Linked DNA regions of Homo sapiens: region 2 is linked to region 1. The links are contacts of gene promoters, found by promoter capture Hi-C in human tissues and cell types (Jung and others, 2019). All regions are on one chromosome and are shown on one strand. The core of a region is centred on a gene start or on the middle of the fragment in contact, and the rest is flanking DNA. Distances in the headings are between cores, read along the strand shown.

Region 1 (4,170 bases), core at 485-2,984:
CACCCATGGTCCCAGCACCCTAATTCTACCCGCCACTGTTGTGAAAGTGAATTGATTTCTTTTTGGCCCAGCCTTACTTCTCGGAGTTGCATGGCTGGTGAACTGGTCCCCAGAGCATGGGTTATAATCCTACTTTCTCAGGAGCAAATTCTACAGGAGGCCTGGGAGCTAACAGTCATGTGACAGCCTGGAAGGTCAGAACTTCACTCTCCAGAACTATGTCAACTAGATCATAAGGTGGGGAAAAGCCACGTGACTGCCTGCCTGCCAGGGAAGCAAACAACTGCTGTCTCAGCCTTGGTATGAACCCTTCTCCCACCTGGTGCTGAGAGCAATTTTGGTGACATCCATGGCTTAGCTGCAATGACATCTCTACCTCTTAAAGGCCTTTGGTTCCTGAGCTAATTAAACGTCCCAGACAGAAAGGACATGCTTAATCTTATTAATAACTTCTGGTCAGGAAACAGTGTGCCCAGCCCTCTGAGGGAGTGCCTTTCTGAACCACCTCCATTTGTTCAGGTGCTTGGCGATTGCTATCAGCCCTTTCAAGAGATTAAGTTTGTACGCAGGAGCAAGCCACTTAGGTAATGGATCCCGGGGCCCTGGGAGTGTCTGGTGACTGTGGAGTGTGCAGCCAGCCAGCACCTTGGCTCATTCAGATTCCAGAACCACTGTTTTCCAACTTCCTGCTCTTCAGAACCATTGGGGGGTAGGGAGGGACTTGACTATCGAGGAGAAGAGGGGGACTCTCCTATCTCTGGCTGTTCACCCAGCCCTTTCACACAGAGGGAAGCTGGGGACTGTCCTTGCCCTGAGGAGCCTCACAGCTCAGTGGGGTCACAGATACAAACAATGTGAGCAAATAAGGACAATACCACATTAGACTGGAAACAGTGGAGGTGAGCACATGATGCCCTGTGGGTGTATACCGTTGGTAACTGCTCCAGCCTGGGGGTTCAGGGAAGGCTTCCTGGAAGAAGAAACAGGTGAGATGAGAAATGAGAGTTACAAGCTGAAAATCGGCTGGGCATGGTGGCTCACACCTGTAATCCCAGCACTTTGGGAGGCCAAGGAGGCCGGATCACCTGAGGTTAGGAGTTCCAGAGGAGCCTGGCCAACATGGTGAAACCCCGTCCCTACTAAAAATACAAAAATTAGCTGGGCGTGGTGGGGCGCGCCTGTAATTCCAGGTGCTCAGGAGGCTGAGGCAGGAGAATCGTTTGAAACTGGGAGGCGGAGGTTGCAGTGAGCCGAGAACACACCATTGCACCCCAGCCCGGGCAAAAAGAGCGAAACTCCGTGTCAAAAAAATAGTAATAATAATAAATAAAATTTTTAAAAAGCTGAAAATCTCCCCCGTTGAGGGGAGATCTGTTGAGGGGACTGTGAAATGGAATTCCCTGACTGGGTTTCGTGCAGGCTTTAGTATAAGGCTGGAAGGATGGAAATAGCTCCCTCATCAATTTACGGGACAGTGGTTGGTGAAGCCTTAAAATGCCAATGTTCCAGGAACACTGTTATCGGTTCCAGGACTATTGTTGCTTTAAGCCCCCACCTTGAGCATTCAGAGAAGAGAGATTACTAAGACGAAGTTGCAGATGTCTCTTTAAAAAAGGAGAGAGGATTCCTCGAGCCACGCCCTCTTCTCATTAATATTAAATTATTGTGAATATTGATGTGGGGGCGTGGCGCCTTGGCCAGCTGGGCTAGCCAGCCAGGGGTTCCCGGTTTCACAGAGAGGAAAGTGACAGAAGACGTGCGGAGGGAGACGCAGAGACAGAGGAGAGGCCGGCAGCCACCCAGTCTCGGGGGAGCACTTAGCTCCCCCGCCCCGGCTCCCACCCTGTCCGGGGGGCTCCTGAAGCCCTCAGCCCCAACCCCGGGCTCCCCATGGAAGCCAGCTGTGCCCCAGGAGGAGCAGGAGGAGGTGGAGTCGGCTGAATGCCCACGGTGCGCCCGGGGCCCCTGAGCCCATCCCGCTCCTAGCCGCTGCCCTAAGGCCCCCGCGCGCCCCGCGCCCCCCACCCGGGGCCGCGCCGCCTCCGTCCGCCCCTCCCCCGGGGCTTCGCCCCGGACCTGCCCCCCGCCCGTTTGCCAGCGCTCAGGCAGGAGCTCTGGACTGGGCGCGCCGCCGCCCTGGAGTGAGGGAAGCCCAGTGGAAGGGGGTCCCGGGAGCCGGCTGCGATGGACGCCGTCTTGGAACCCTTCCCGGCCGACAGGCTGTTCCCCGGATCCAGCTTCCTGGACTTGGGGGATCTGAACGAGTCGGACTTCCTCAACAATGCGGTAAGATGAAGGGTCTCCGTTCCCGTTCCACCCCTCGGCACCCGTCCTCGCGGCGCGCCTGGGCCCCTAGAAGGACCCGACTACACATCACTGGGCAGGAGCCGGGGAGAGGGTTCAGCGCAGGGTCTCCAGGAGCGACATGTGTTTGGAGCTAAGCGCCCCTCCTGGGGGCTCAATCTTTGAATACACTGGCCTCCACCTTCTAGGGGGAAGGGGCCATCGAGGTATCGGGTCCGTCCGATCCTCGGATCTGAGCTCAAGAGACACCAATCCCGCCCTCCACCCACGTCTTCTAGCCGTCCCCAACCCACCCCAGGTTCCAGGACCAGACTGGGCGCAAAGTGGCAGCGCCCTTTCCTGCGCCTCCCTTGGGGCTTCGGTGGCTCATAGGCTGGATCTCCGCTGGGGGGCGCACCGGGGAACGTTCAGAGGGCCTGAGACCCGACCCCTCGGGGAAGCCAGGCCCAGAAATTTCAGGGTGCTACCCTGGCAGCCCCAGGGAATCAGGCCCAGAGACCCCCCACCCCAGGGAGGGACCTGAGGCTGGGGGCTGGGAAGAGGCGGTCAGGGCAACATAGGGTGATGGCTCAGGAGGAGGGAGCCATTTCTCTCCATCTGCCTCTAGATCTCTGCTCTGTCCCTCTGTTCCTGGAGTCTGGCTGACTTTCTCCCTCTCCCTATGTCTTCTTGACTAGGTCCGACTGTGAGCTTGTCTTTCTCCTCTTTCTCACTCTTCCCCTCCCTCCCTAAGGAAACGTGGCTTCTCTCTCTTCTTCCCTCCCTCCCTCTCTCAGGCTCAGCCCTAAGGCCTTGATGGGGGAGGGGCACGGACTTAGAATGGGAGAAAATATTTGGGTTCAGAAGGGCCTGCCCAGATGAAATGTGGATTGTTTGGGGAGTCTAGTGGGAGCCCCCTCTTCAGTGAACCACCAGTTGCGTGTGCATGCCTGTTCACACGCCACACACACACACACACCCTGTGATCAAGCACTTGAGACTCTTTACCTGCTGACCTCTACCTCCCAGGACCAAGATAAACTTGGCCAGGCAAGAGTCAAGTCCTTAGAGGACTTGAGCATCTTGGACTTCCACCTAAACTGTCCCAGGCCACTAGATTGATGGTGAGGAACCAGGCCAAGGGACAGGAGCCGGAGTCAAGGAGGCATGGGGGCTGAGGTCTCCCTGTTCTCCATTAAGCAGCACATCCTGGTCACCCTGCGCTCTGAGGAAGGCCCCTGTCCCAGGCAGAGAGAGCATAATTCAGCAGACAAGACAAGGGTATAAGGGCAGAGGGCTTGCATTGACTGCAGCGAGACTTGGTTTCTAGTCCTGGCTCTGCTTCCCCTGTGAGCTTGGCCCCTACCACTGGCTCTCCTCCCTGAGCCTCAGTTTCTTTGTCTGTAAAATGGGGGAGAGGTTGGATCAGGTCTTCCTATAGATGGTTCTGGCACAGATCCCAGGAATAAAGCAGCAGGGATCGGGGGATCCACACCTCCTCTTGAAGCTGGTAAAAGACACTAGTCAGAGGGAAAGAGGTTTGTCAGAGCTCGGACCCTTGAAGTCAAGCAGGGCAGTAGAGCCCTGCAGTAAGCTTCTCTCGGCCCTTGGCAGCTCTGAGTTGGGCTTTCTTCTGAATGAACTCGGCCGCCCGAAGCCTCTTCCTGCTGCTCCATTCAGCCCTGCATCCCCAGCTGCTTATCTGGGCCTTGGTCCAGCACAGGAAAAGAGGCACGACCAGACAGTGGGATCCAGCACTAGGACACTGGGGAGGAAAAGCCCTGCTGGGGAGGCTCCTGATCTCGCACCTGGGGCAGCGCCAGGAGAGGCAGCGGGAGAAGATGGGGTGCCTAAGGAAAGAGAGAAAGGACTCTTGGGCTGGGAATC
Region 2 (4,170 bases), core at 465-2,964, 410 kb before region 1:
TCTAGGGGATAGTCCCTCCACATCTGGCAGCTGAGCCACTAGGTCTTTGGAGGGCCCAGATTCCTTTGTAGAAGAGACCTGAGAGGCACCATGCTAAGAGCTGGGCGAGTGTTTGTATCCATGTGCCACCCCTACCTCTCAGGTGAAGCGGAACAGCACACCTCCCCTCTCCCTATTTGGGCAACTCCTATGGCGAGAGTTCTTCTACACGGCAGCTACCAACAACCCCAGGTTTGACCGCATGGAGGGGAACCCCATCTGCATCCAGATCCCCTGGGACCGCAATCCTGAGGCCCTGGCCAAGTGGGCTGAGGGCAAGACAGGCTTCCCTTGGATTGATGCCATCATGACCCAACTGAGGCAGGAGGGCTGGATCCACCACCTGGCCCGGCATGCCGTGGCCTGCTTCCTGACCCGCGGGGACCTCTGGGTCAGCTGGGAGAGCGGGGTCCGGGTGAGTGCTCTCTCAACGAAAAGCTGGCCTGTACCCTCTGGTCAGGCCCGTCAAAGGGCAGCCCCCTTCTGGGCTGAGGGATGAGGTGGGATTTCTGGGTCCAGGAGATCCCCTCCAGATCCTCTGTGGCTTGCCTTCAATGGAAGGGTTTTGGCTCCTGGGGGCACTGTGGTGACTTGGGAAAAAACATGGCTGCATGTCCCCAAGGAGGCTGATCATCCCCTCCCCTATCTAGGTATTTGATGAGCTGCTCCTGGATGCAGATTTCAGCGTGAACGCAGGCAGCTGGATGTGGCTGTCCTGCAGTGCTTTCTTCCAGCAGTTCTTCCACTGCTACTGCCCTGTGGGCTTTGGCCGTCGCACGGACCCCAGTGGGGACTACATCAGGTGAGGATACAGACCAGGCTCTCTGGCCTCTGACCACTGTGGCCTCCTACTAGGATGGGATACCCTGGGCCTTTTGAAGGAGGGTCTGGGTATGCTGATGGGTCATCTGGTGTATCTTATTTCAGGCGATACCTGCCCAAATTGAAAGCGTTCCCCTCTCGATACATCTATGAGCCCTGGAATGCCCCAGAGTCAATTCAGAAGGCAGCCAAGTGCATCATTGGTGTGGACTACCCACGGCCCATCGTCAACCATGCCGAGACCAGCCGGCTTAACATTGAACGAATGAAGCAGATTTACCAGCAGCTTTCGCGCTACCGGGGACTCTGTAAGGAGACAAACACCTAGCTCACTGAAGGGAAGGACAGCACCTACAGGCTCAGGGGGCCAGATGGGGATGTCCAGATACTTGCAAAGGGAGACTGAGTGCTGTCTTTCAGGTTGACACCTTCGCTGGGTATGGGACACTGCAGGCTGGGATGAACTGGGCCTTCCTGAGTAGTTGTGGGGCTGTGGGAGGAAATGGAACCTCAGTGTCTTGCTCCTACCCTCCCCACCCCCACTTGCTTCATCCTGCCCTGTAGCCCTCTGCAATCCTGCGAGACGGCACTCTGATTACTCCTCGCCTCTCTCCCAGGTCTACTGGCATCTGTCCCTTCCTGTGTGGAAGACCTCAGTCACCCTGTGGCAGAGCCCAGCTCGAGCCAGGCTGGCAGCATGAGCAGTGCAGGTGAGCAGCAGCAACCAACCTCCTGTGGCCTCCTGTGGCCTGTGCCACCACTTCAGTCATTCAGGACTGAGGCCAGAAGGAGGCCTTGCCCAGTGGAGCTTATATTCCACCTGGGGCAGTCAGATAGTAAAGAAACCAAGTTGGATCATTTCAGATAACAAGTGCTTTGGAGGAAAAGAAAGTTGAGTATCTTGACAGAGGGACTGGGAAAGAAGGATTTCTTCTGTGTCACTTGAGATTGGAGCAGTCAGGGAACACCTCTGTTAAGCAGAGACCCACGTCATGAGCAGGAGCCAGCCCTGCCACACACTGAGAAAATAACATTCCAGACAAAGGGAGTAGCAAGAAAAAGCTCACAAACAGTACCGAGCTTAGTCCATTCAAGGAACCGAAGGGAGGTCAGTGTAGCGGCATGTCCCAGTGAGGAGCTGGAATGAGATGAGGACAAGATACAGCATGAGCAGCATGTGGCAGGCCTGATGTCCGAGACGAGGACTAGGATTCAGCCTTCAGTGCACTGAAGGATGGTCAGTAGGGCAGGGCATGATTGGACTTAGGTCTGAAAAAGCTCCCTGGCCTGCTGGGTGGAGATTGGACAGTGTAGGCCGGAGCGGGCACAGGGAGGCCAGAGAGGAGGCAGCACAGACAGGGTGGTGGCCGCAAGGAGAAAGACTGGACAGATTCGCTGCATTCGGAGCCTCTTCCCTTCTTGGGGATGAAGATGAGTAACATGAGATGGGAAGAACACGGGTTTTTCTAGTTGGCCCAGCTAGGCTGCCTCCATGGGCAGCATGACTCCTCCACAGGGGCCCTGCTCTTTGCTGCTTGGGGAGGCTGATTCAGGGTTGCAGAGGGAATGCCTCACCTTCAAAGCAGGACAGCAGGCAGGCCAAATCAGTCTCTGGCCACAGCCCATGCCATTTGGGGCCCAAAAGCTGGTCCTGCTACCAGCAGGCCTGCTTGGTCATGTCCTCCTTGGACATTTCCAGGCAAAGTCACTGCTGAAAGCAAGGCCGAGGGGCAGGTCTGAGGAGCAGCATGCTGGCATTCCATTGATAAGTGTGCTCCCTGTCCCCTAAAGAGCTGCTGCTGCATAGTGTGGGATCATTTTGGCTGCATGCACAGTCTGTGTGACCCTTTGACACGCTTCCCTACAGGCCCAAGACCACTACCCAGTGGCCCAGCATCCCCCAAACGCAAGCTGGAAGCAGCCGAGGAACCACCTGGTGAAGAACTCAGCAAACGGGCCCGGGTGGCAGAGTTGCCAACCCCAGAGCTGCCGAGCAAGGATGCCTGAGAGTGAGTGACAGCAGCCTAGATTCAACCTCAGGAAGGAAGTTGGGAGTGGGGGGGCCTACTGCCCTGCCAGCTGCAGGTTGAAACATAGCAAACTAGATGAAAATCTGGTGGGACCACCCAATGCTCAGCCACTAAAGCTTTACCATTTTACAGTGGCAGCCGGGTTCCATCCTGGCTTAGGGAATGAGTACTTTCTGGTTGATATCTGTGTGACCTTTACCATTGGGCCGGCTATGGTGGCTCATGTATGTAATCCCAGCACTTTGGGAGGCCAAGGTGGGAGGATCGCTTGAGGCCAGGAGTACAAGACCAACCTGGCCAAACCAACATAGTGAGACTCCATCTCTAAAAACATAATAATAATAATAATAATAATCTGGTGGGACTGCATGACTTTTAGGATTTCAGCTCAAAAATCCCACCATTCTGACTTTTATCAGAGATTTAAAAGTCAAGCCCTTTTGTATTTTTTTGCCAGCTAAGGGAAAAAGGGAGGCATGGGGGCTGAGGGGTGGCGCTTTCTACCTATTAAAATGAGTCACACTCAAGAGAAAGAAAGCTGAGACCTGCGTGTGAAGCAGCGGGGAAAAGGCGCATTGCAGGGTCTGAGGCTGCTCCAGGCCCCCTGCTTTCCGACAGGCTGTGTTCTATAGGCCAGCCAGTGGAGGGCAGCACTGACCTTGAGAAGCCTGGACAGAGGGCTGTGCTGTGTCTTACTTGGCCCAGCCCTGCCTGAGGACCAGTAGACCCAGTCTGTCATCATCTTTGCCTTTTGCGGCCTCTCCTCCCTTCTCACCCATCCTGTGGCCTCAGCTCTGCACCTCCCTGGCAGCGCTCATCTTGGAAGCCTCCTGAATGTCATCAAAACACTGGCTTCTCCTTTCCCAAGGGAGGAAGGGCCTTTTATGCCACTCTTGGGGAAATGTAAATTCCTGTCCCCTCTGAGTCATCATCTCAAGCTGTTCCTTATGCACCATGTCTTCGTCATTAGATTGGAGGGTGATTTTTCTCCATGGAGCTGATAGGTTCTTTTTATCAGATCCCTCTTACTTCAGGGCCAGGCCGCAGCCATCTGGTTTGAGTGTCTGGATTTGTGTGCTCACTGAGATGGGCATTTGATGCCTGCACCCTTCACCTTTCCTGGGCTCTTTGACATAGACATTGCTGATGGACAGATGTGTGCTATCTTGTTCCTGGGAGTACCAGCAACCTACTACTCTCTCAGTTATCTCTTAGCTCTGTGATACTAAGCAAAGTTCATCCTGTATTACAAATTTGGAACTTGCCAGGCTGACACTCT

Evidence for each region. Contacts are between HindIII fragments. The study calls those that stand out against the background at their distance.
Region 2: a fragment that was not itself captured here is called in contact with the fragment with the promoter of CREB3L1 in region 1 in 1 of the 25 tissues and cell types used here (spleen).

Annotation. Positions count from the first base shown.
Region 1 is chr11:46,275,928-46,280,097 of GRCh38, forward strand. CREB3L1 (cAMP responsive element binding protein 3 like 1) reads left to right here and starts at 1,735. Exons shown (of 12, transcript NM_052854.4): 1 at 1,735-2,286. The coding sequence starts at 2,185. The HindIII fragment of the contact is 8,009 bases long and covers 1-4,170 here.
Region 2 is chr11:45,869,364-45,873,533 of GRCh38, forward strand. It overlaps CRY2 (cryptochrome circadian regulator 2), which reads left to right. Exons shown (of 12, transcript NM_021117.5): 7 at 143-454; 8 at 690-841; 9 at 967-1,169; 10 at 1,479-1,571; 11 at 2,729-2,870. The coding sequence ends at 2,868. Among named protein-coding and RNA genes, the nearest start is that of MAPK8IP1, 14 kb to the right of the region's middle. The HindIII fragment of the contact is 3,983 bases long and covers 1-3,706 here.